2 separate regions of the Homo sapiens genome follow, and region 1 is linked to region 2. The links are contacts of gene promoters, found by promoter capture Hi-C in blood cells and fetal thymus (Javierre and others, 2016). All regions are on one chromosome and are shown on one strand. Each heading gives the region's core, a stretch centred on a gene start or on the middle of the fragment in contact. The rest is flanking DNA. Distances are from core to core; before and after follow the strand shown.

The links. The method cuts DNA at HindIII sites, captures the fragments that hold promoters and counts their contacts. A CHiCAGO score of 5 or more calls a contact.
Region 1: a contact is called between a fragment that was not itself captured here and the fragment with the promoter of MDN1 in region 2, in 1 of 17 cell types (fetal thymus). The highest score is 10.4, in fetal thymus.

What each region holds. Positions count from the first base shown.
Region 1 is chr6:87,155,733-87,160,023 of GRCh38, reverse strand. It overlaps ZNF292 (zinc finger protein 292), which reads right to left. Exons shown (of 8, transcript NM_015021.3): 1 at 4,265-4,291. Among named protein-coding and RNA genes, the nearest start is that of ZNF292, 2.3 kb to the right of the region's middle. RefSeq lists enhancers at 3,033-3,640, 4,152-4,291. The HindIII fragment of the contact is 2,438 bases long and covers 1,153-3,590 here.
Region 2 is chr6:89,817,961-89,822,507 of GRCh38, reverse strand. MDN1 (midasin AAA ATPase 1) reads left to right here and starts at 2,714. Exons shown (of 102, transcript NM_014611.3): 1 at 2,714-3,002. The coding sequence starts at 2,901. RefSeq lists enhancers at 1,777-2,396, 2,397-3,016, 2,671-3,060, 3,637-4,256, 4,257-4,547. The HindIII fragment of the contact is 1,090 bases long and covers 1,972-3,061 here.

The DNA.
Region 1 (4,291 bases), core at 1,122-3,621, 2.7 Mb after region 2:
TAACTAGTCTAAAAGGTTCCAATTATAACCAATTTTTGTATAATAAATACAGTAATAATCCTAAAACAAGTAAATGCAAGAAATTACTTCTGGTTATTCTATATACTTATTCTAAGTCAATTTTAAGAAAATGAGTTGGTTATATTGCCCATATTAAAGCTAACTTTGAAAAGATACAAGGAAATTTAAGAGCTGGGCATGGTGGTGTATGCCTGAGGTCTCAGCTACTTAGAAGGCTGAGACAGGGCCGGGCGTGGTGGCTCACGCCTGTAATCCCAGCACTTTGGGAGGCCAAGAGGGGCGGAACCAGCCTGACCAACAAGGAGAAACCCTGTCTCTAGTAAAAATACAAAATTAGCCGGGCATGGTGGCACATGCCTGTAATCCCAGCTACTCAGGAGGCTGAGGCAGGAGAATTGCTTGAACCCAAGAGGCGGAGGTTGTGGTGAGCCCAGATTGCGCCATTGCACACCAGCCTGGGTGACAGAGTTAAACTACATCTTTTTTAAAAAAAAAAAAAAAAAAAAAGAAAGAAAAGAAAGCTGAGACAGGAGGATCACTTGAGCCTAAGAGTTTGAGGTTGTAGTGTGCTATGATCATACCTGGGCAATGTAGCAAGACCCCATCTCTCAAAAATAAAATAAAATATATAAAAAAATTTAAAATTTATGACGGGCGCTCTACTATGCCCATCCTCTACTTACTCTTCCCTCCTCCCACTTAAGCTTTAAGCAAATTCTCATTTAAATAAGCAAAGGGGGGGCAGGTGGCTTATTTCCAGAATGAGCAAAACAACACTGTTAATAAGAAAAACATTTAATGCCTTTCGTTTCTATTCTGCTACTCAGAATTCAAAAAATCTATTAATCTTCTACCTCACTCAAAAATAAAAATCTATAAACTACGGATCATAAGCAACTCCTGTTTCTGTGGGTTTCACCACATTCTCCAGAAACTGAACTTTTGCTCATAAAAATTACATAGAATGTAAACTAATTCATTTTTTAAAGTAAATGCAAAACTAAGGGTTACACAAGCACTGAGCATCAACACTGACAGAATATTAATTCTGAAGCCCATTAACTTTGACAAACGTTTATTCATCTTTGCCTTCTTGAAGCGTGTGACTATCCCAGTTTTACAGGAAAAGCTTAAACAGAAAAAGTTAAATAATAATCTCAAGGTTAGAAACTAAGACATAATTTCTAGCTCCTAGTATCCCTGGTACTATATTTAGATTGCGCCAATAAATTCTTTAATTGTTAACCATTGCTTCACTCAACTTCGTATCAAAATGCTAGGTGATAATTGCTAAGATACAATTTTATTTTTATTTTTTATTTTTTTGAGACAGGATCTTTCTCTGTCACCCGGGCTGGAGTGTGCACAGTGCACCATCTCTGCTCACTGCAACCTCTGCCTCCCGGGTTCAAATGATCCTCCCACCTCAGCCTCGTAAGTAGCTGGGACTACAGGCACTCGCCACAGCGCCTGGCTAATTTTTTTGATTTGTTTTGTTTTTTGTATTTTTTGTAGAGAAGGGGCCACGCCATGCTGCTCAGGCTCAAGCGATCCGCCCAACTCGGCCTCCCAAACTGCTGGGATTACAGGTGTGAGCCACCTCCACCCCTGTAAATAAACATAAATAAACAATTGTTTCAAGTTACCTCCACTTGACAAGATCACTAACATAAATAGGTTACCTGAGAAACAAAACAAAAAACCCCACCCCAGAAAATGTTCCAGAGGAAATCAGACACACTCTGTATCGTTTCAAATGGAGATTACTTTTAAGTGTATTTAAATTATTCTGAGCTTACAGTGTATGAAATATTTTATAATTTTTGAAATCCACAAATCCAGCATTTGTTTCATTAGTGTTTGATGTTTTTTTGTCAGTAGCATCAATAACAATTTATGTGGCAAGACTAATCACTTAATGAAACTGATATAGGAAATTACTTTCATTCTGATTTTTAAAATGCTGTTTCACTCATTAAAAAACTCAAGTCTGGCGGGACGCGGTGCTCACACCTGTAATCCCAGCACTTTGGGAAACAGAGGTGGGTGGATCACTTGAGGTCAGCAGTTCGAGACCAGCAGTTCGAGACCAGCCTGGCCGACATACAGTGAAACCCCAAACCTCATCTCTACTAAAAACACAAAAATTAGCTGGGCTTGGTGGCGCACGCCTGTAGTCCCAGTTACTTGGGAAGCTGAGGCAGGAAAATCGCTTGAACCCAGGAGATGGAGGCTGCAGTGAGCTGAGATCGCACCACTGCACTCCAGCCCGGGTGACAGAGCAAGACTCCATATCTCAAAAATAAATAAATAAATAAAAATCTTTAAGTGATAACTTTACAACGTCACACACTCACAAAAAAGCGGGGGGGAGTCCAGCTTGCATGAGATTCTATTTTCCCAGAATTATTAATCCTGCTTACAAATACTGCTGACAAAAAAAGAATTTACAGTAATTAGCCTTAAAACTATCAGTGGACACTATTAGGGGAAAATGTCTTTCAGCAAAGCTAGACTTTAATAGTTTTCACTGATTATTATATAAAAACTGATTCGACTTACAAATGAAATACTTCCTATTATGGGTATCTTAGAGAAATTTTTTTATCTCTAAAATAAATCTTTAAAGACCAATTAAGAATGAGTGGGTACTGCAAAGTAGAGAAACTGAGAAATTTCAACAATTTTTAAATATTAAAATTCAAAGGAATGAGACTTTAATTTTGCCACAGGTACTCACCAGACCTATTTACCTAAGTAGGGAGCTTTCACATTGCACATCCTCCTAGACGTCACCACTTGATCTCACAGTTTTTGTTTTTAAGATTATGAACAGCCATCAAATAATTTGTGACAATAAAGTGCATACAGCAACGGAGATTCTTTTGTATGTGATCACGTATCCCCGACATAATAAAGAAAATATTTCAATATTTGGAAGCTAAAAAATAAGTGAAAATGTAATCTACTCAGCTAAAATGGTCAACCATTGTTCTACGTTAAGATCAGTATTTTTCCAAAACGAATTCTCTGTAATGATACACTCACAAGTTAACTCTAAATATGACCTGTGTAAATTGTGTCTTCTTTTTCCTCCTCAAGACAATCAAATCAAAGTCTTCACCAGAGCCAGCAACACTACCTTGAAATTTTAAACCTAAGTGTAAGGCTCGTAATGAAGTGCAAATGTAGTCCCAAACTCTCCGATTTTCACCATGGATGAAATGATTTTCATCACTAGCAAACAGTGTTATTAACATTCCAAATTCTGGTTAGAATGCAGTCACTGGTGAGCAGTGCCCTTGGGCAAGCAAAGAAAAGATTTGAAACTACCCAAAGCACAGATCCACATGAACCTCAGTCTTCTCCCACTTCATCAGGAAGCCAAATAGGAAGGACTCCAAGAAACAGGGGTGAGGGGGTGATCGGGACAGAAAGGATAGTGGAAATCATACTCCTCGAAGGGCGAAAGCAAATGAGAAACGGACTCTGGAAAAACCGCCCCAAAAGGACACTCAACCTGAGACAGATGTACAGGCACAGCTCCTCTACACTAAGGAGATAAAGCTTTACCACAGAAGTGATGCACCAAGCAAGCAAGTATGGGCAGGAGGGGACAACCTCCGCCAAGCACCCCCTCCCGAACGTCTAGCTCAACTAGAAGGGGTCGGCGGGGACTGCTCCTCCGAACATCAACAAAGGCCCCTTCAGTCCTAAGGCGAAACTCGAACAACAAAGGCCCGGAGACAGCCAGGACAGGGCCGGGGCTGGGGGGCGGGACGGATGAAAGCAGGGGAAGGCAAAGGAATCAAACCAGTGGGGGCGGAGGCCCGTCGGAGTGGGAAGCAGAGGCGCAGAGGCGGGAGGCGCGGTAATCCCCAGTGCACAATAAAAGGAGGAGGAGGAAGAGAACCTGGCCTCCATTCTCCTACTCTCTCCAATCCGCACCGTGTACATTTCCTCAGCCGCGGGGACCGCGCAGTCCCGAGTTCAGGGAAGGAAAGGGGAGGGGGGATTTTCCGCCTTGACCGCAACTCCCTTCCCCCAGCCAGGAGCTGCAGACGACAACAACCGCCACAACTGCAGCCACACAAAGGCGCCTTCCTTCTACTCCCGCTCCCACCCAGGCGGAGGCGCCGATGATGCCAAGGAAGCGGCGACCACCTCTCGGCCGCCTAGCGCTCGCTCGCCCTCTTCCCCCTCTAGCTGGGGAAAGGGGGAGGGGACCACCGGGCGCCCTCACCTGGCACAGCTGCTGACAGTAGTCGGT
Region 2 (4,547 bases), core at 1,465-3,964:
CTCCTGCCTCAGCCTCCCAAATAGCTGGGACTACAGGCACGTGCCACCACGCCCGGCTAATTTTTGTATTTTTAGTAGAGATGGGGTTTCACCATGTTGGCCAGGCTGGTCTCGAACTCCTGACCTCAGGTGATCTGCCCGCCTTGGCCTGCCAAAGTGCTGGGATTACAGGTGTGAGCCACCGTGCCCGGCCAATTTTTGTATTTTTAGTAGAGATGGGGTTTCACCATCTTGGCCAGGCTGGTCTTGAACTCCTGACCTTGTGATCCACCCGACTCAGCCTCCCAAAGTGCTGAGATTACAGGCTTGAGCCACTGTGCCCTGCCCAGTCTTAGATTTTTATTACCCCCAAATTTTGCCTCCTGGCTGTTTACATTGTCTTCTCTTCTAATCCCAAACTCAGGCAACCACTAACCTGTTCTATTAATTTAATCACCCTAGAGCTGTTCATCTTCCTGCTGCTGCCCAGATGAAAGTTCCGGGATTTCCCTTAACTTTAAACACTTAAAAGTAAAATAATCCCGTGGATTAGGATTACGATCGACAGGGTTATTTTACTTTTTCTTTCTGTGCTAAATCTCTTATTTCCTGGATCCCGTGTCGTCTTCTTTCTTGGTTTTATCCTCCTTTTTCAGGGCGCATCTCTTTCAACAGATTCCTGAGAATAGTTGCCAGGGTGCATTATCACTACATAACTACATTTTTTTTTTTGTCTTTTTCTTTTTTTTGAGACAGAGTTTCGCTCTTGTCGCCCAGGCTGGAGTGCACTGGCACGATGTCCGCTCACTGCAACCTCCGCCTCCCGGGCTCGAGCTATTCTCCTGCCTCAGCCTCCTGAGTAGGTGGGATTACAGGCGCCCACCACTATGCCCAGCTTTTTGTATTTTTAGTAGAGACAAGGTTTCACCATGTTGGCCAGACTGGTCTCAAACTCCCGACCTCGGGTGATCTGCCCGCCTTGGCCTCCCAAAGTGCTGGGATTACAGGCGTGAGCCACCACGCCTGGCCCCACTTAAAAAAAAAAAAAAAAGACGGAGTTTCGCTCTTGTTGCCTAGGCTGGAGTGCAATCCCACGATCTCGGCTCACCACAACCTCCGTCTCCTGAGTTCAAGCGATTCTCCTGCTTCAGCCTCCTGAGTAGCTGGGATTACAGGCATGCACCACCACACCTGGCTAATTTTTGTATTTTTAGTAGAGACAGGGTTTTACCATGTTGGTCAGGCTGGTCTCAAACTGCTGACCTCAGGTGATCTGCCCGCCTCGGCCTCCCAAAGTGCTGGGATTACAGGCGTGAGCCAAGGCACCCAGCCCTAATTTTTGTATTTTTAGTAGAGACAGGGTTTCACCATGTTGGCCAGACTGGTCTCCAACTCCTTATCTCGTGATCTGCCTGCCTTGCCTTGAGCCACTGCGCCCAGCCCACAAGTGCACTTTTAATGTTATGGACTCTACTATTTTTTATGACTTCCAGAATATGCTATAACTTACACCCCATAGTTTAATATTCCCAATTGAACATTTTCTTCCAATATCTGTATTAAGAAAACTGCAAGGGGTGTCTTTGTCACACTTAGTGAGGATTTCCGCAGGCTAGAGTCCTACAAGGGGAATTGCTGGGGCAGAATGTTAACTAGTTAGGTATGAGCAGAACAGGAGAGCGCTCCCCACCCCACACATACCAGGACTATTGGGTGACAATCAAACGATGGTCAGGCGGTTCTTAACTGTTTCTCTAACGTTCACCGGGGCCAGCGAAAGGCAGTCTCCTAATAGAAAACACCTGAAACTGATCAGTAGCTTCCCAGTAAGATCTCAGGAGTGGGGAGAAGCAATGCAAGTTCCCCAAAGTATGCCAACATATAAAACTTCAAGTCAACAGGTCAAGCTGCGCACTTGGTTTCTCAAGTCGCCTGCTTGGCAGTCTTCCAAGTTGTACTTTCCTCCTTTTCTTTCCGTCCCGTTCTAAAGCTTTTTGATAAACTTTTACTTCTATTCTGAAACTTGTCTAGGTCTATCCTGCCTTATGCCCTTCGTGGAATTATTTCTTCTGAGGAGGCAAGAACTAAGGTTACTGCTGACCCCTACCTATACAGGGGGTAACTGCCACCGCTAACAAGAAGGGGAGAATCAGCTTTTCTTTCTTTTTTTGAGACAGTAAAAGTCTGCTGTGTCGCGCGGCTGGAGTGCAGCTGCACGATCTCGGCTTACTGTAACCTCCGTCTCCCGGGTTCAAGCGATTCTCCTGCCTCAGCCTCCCGAGTAGCTGGGACTACAGGCGCGCGCCACCACGCCCGGCTAATTTTTGTATTTTTAGTAGAGAAGGGGGTTTCACCATGTTGCCCAGGCTGGTCTCGAACTGCTAACCTCAAGTGATCTGCCCTCCTCGGCCTCCCAAAATGCTGGGATAAAGACATGCGCCACCGCGCCCGGCCGAGAATCAGCTTTTCTCTCACATCTGATCTTTCCGTGTGTTAAGGCAGAAGCAAGGCACGGTGGGCTGAGACTCACACGCCCCCTCTTTCCTCCCCGGCCTAACGCACTCTTCTTTCTGTCCCACCACGTGCTGTGTTCGCGAGTCCCCATCACTCCTGCATCCAAACCGACTAGATTTTTGTTTCCATTTCCCTCCCGGAAAAGGCGGGACAGCGAAGACTGGCGTTTCCGCCGCTGAGGGGCTGAGGCCGGGAGGGCGCAGCGTAGCCGTCCCGAGCTGATGACGTCAAACGCCGTGTGCTCACCCACGTGTGGTGCCCCTCTCCCGGTGTAGGCGCTGGAGCTGAGGACGCCTTTCCTGCGGGCGTAGTTGCTGGCTGCTCGGGCACTGGGACCTCGGCGGCTTGGGGACGCTGGCCGCGAAGTAGGGAGCGCAGGTGGCCGCTCGGGGTGAGGGCCCTGGGTCATGGAGCACTTCTTGCTGGAGGTGGCAGCCGCGCCGCTGCGGTTAATCGCAGCCAAGAACGAGAAGAGCCGCAGTGAGTTGGGCAGGTTCTTGGCCAAGCAGGTAAGACGTGAAGGGAGAGGGAAAGCGCCGGAACGACTGGGTCGCCCCACTAGTAAGCTTCCTGCGCTCCCCCGCCGATACTCGCCGCTTTAAGTGGGGAGTGGTGCAGCCTCAGGTCAAGCTGGCCCCCTCCTGTGGGCTGGCGCAGGTCGTGGAGGTTTCCGAGCGTGTTTGAGGCGATTGGAAGGAGTCTTTTGTTTTTATCTGGGGGAGCCTTCCAGTACCCTTCCCATCGCCTCTCACCCCTATGCAAGCGCTTTGGCTGCTTGTGGCAGAGGTGGCCTTCCCAAAGGAATGTGGTTTGTTTTTCTGAAATTGAGGTTGCGTTTCTGCCGTTTTGACAAGTGTACGTATCACCTAAGTGTGCGTAGTGCAGCCACTCCTGTTAGTTTGGGGAACCATCGACAAATACTGATTGCATTCCTGCTGTGCGTAAGGAACGGTGTGGCGCTGTGAGAAAGTGGATAGATAAATTCGTTACGATCTCTGCCATGAGGGAAATTTGCATCTGTTTTTGGAGACAGTTCGTAAACACTTACAACAGCTGAAGTACAGAGCAAGACAGCTCATACTCACTGTAACTAACTATACAAATTATAAGGTTAATTAGAGTTTTCTGGGAAATAGGTCTTCGGGCTTTTAAGAACCTTCTCATTGACTCCTTCTATCTGAGTTGAAGACACTTTTTTTTTTTTTTTGAGACGGAGTCTCGCTGTGTCGCCAGGCTGGAGTGCAGTGGCGCGATCTCGGCTTACTGCACCCTCCGCCTCCCGGGTTCAGGCGATTCTCCTGCCTCACCCTCTCAGTAGCTGGGATTACAGGCGAGCGCCACCATGCCTAGCTACTTTTTGTATTTTTAGTAGAGACGGGGTTTCACCATGTTGGCCAGGATGGTCTCGATCTCTTGACCTCGTGATCCACCCGCCTCAGCCTCCCAAAGTGCTGGGATTACAGGCGTGAGCCACGGGACAGGTGAGTGTGGTCCCAGGTACTTGGGTCCCAGGTGTGGCTAATTAAAAAAAAAATTTTTTTTTTGTAGTTGTAAGGTCCCCCTTTGTTGCCCCGACTGGTCTGGAACCCCTGGGCTCAAGTGATCATCCCGCCTTGGCCTCCCAAAGTGCAGGGATTGTAGGAGTGAGCCACCGTGTCCGGCCTAAATTTTTTTTTTTTTTTTTTTTTTTTTTTGAGACGGAGGCACGCTCTGTCGTCCAGACTGGAGTGCAATGGCCCACCCTCTCAGCTCACTGCAACCTCCGCCTCTCGAGTTCAAGCGATTCTTCTGTCTCAACCTCCCGAGTAACTGGGATTACAGGCGTGCGCCACCATGCCTGGCTAATATTTTGTATTTTTAGTAGAGACAGGGTTTCACTGTGTGGGTCAGGCTGGTCTCAAACCCCTGATCTCAGGTGATCCACCCGCCTTGGCCTCCTAAAGTGCTGGGATTACAGGCATGAGCCACAGCGCCCTGCCCTGAAGTATTTTTTTTGATGTATCTCAAGCCCAATTGTTCTGGGGAGTGGGGCCAATTTTGCTCCCAGGGACAAA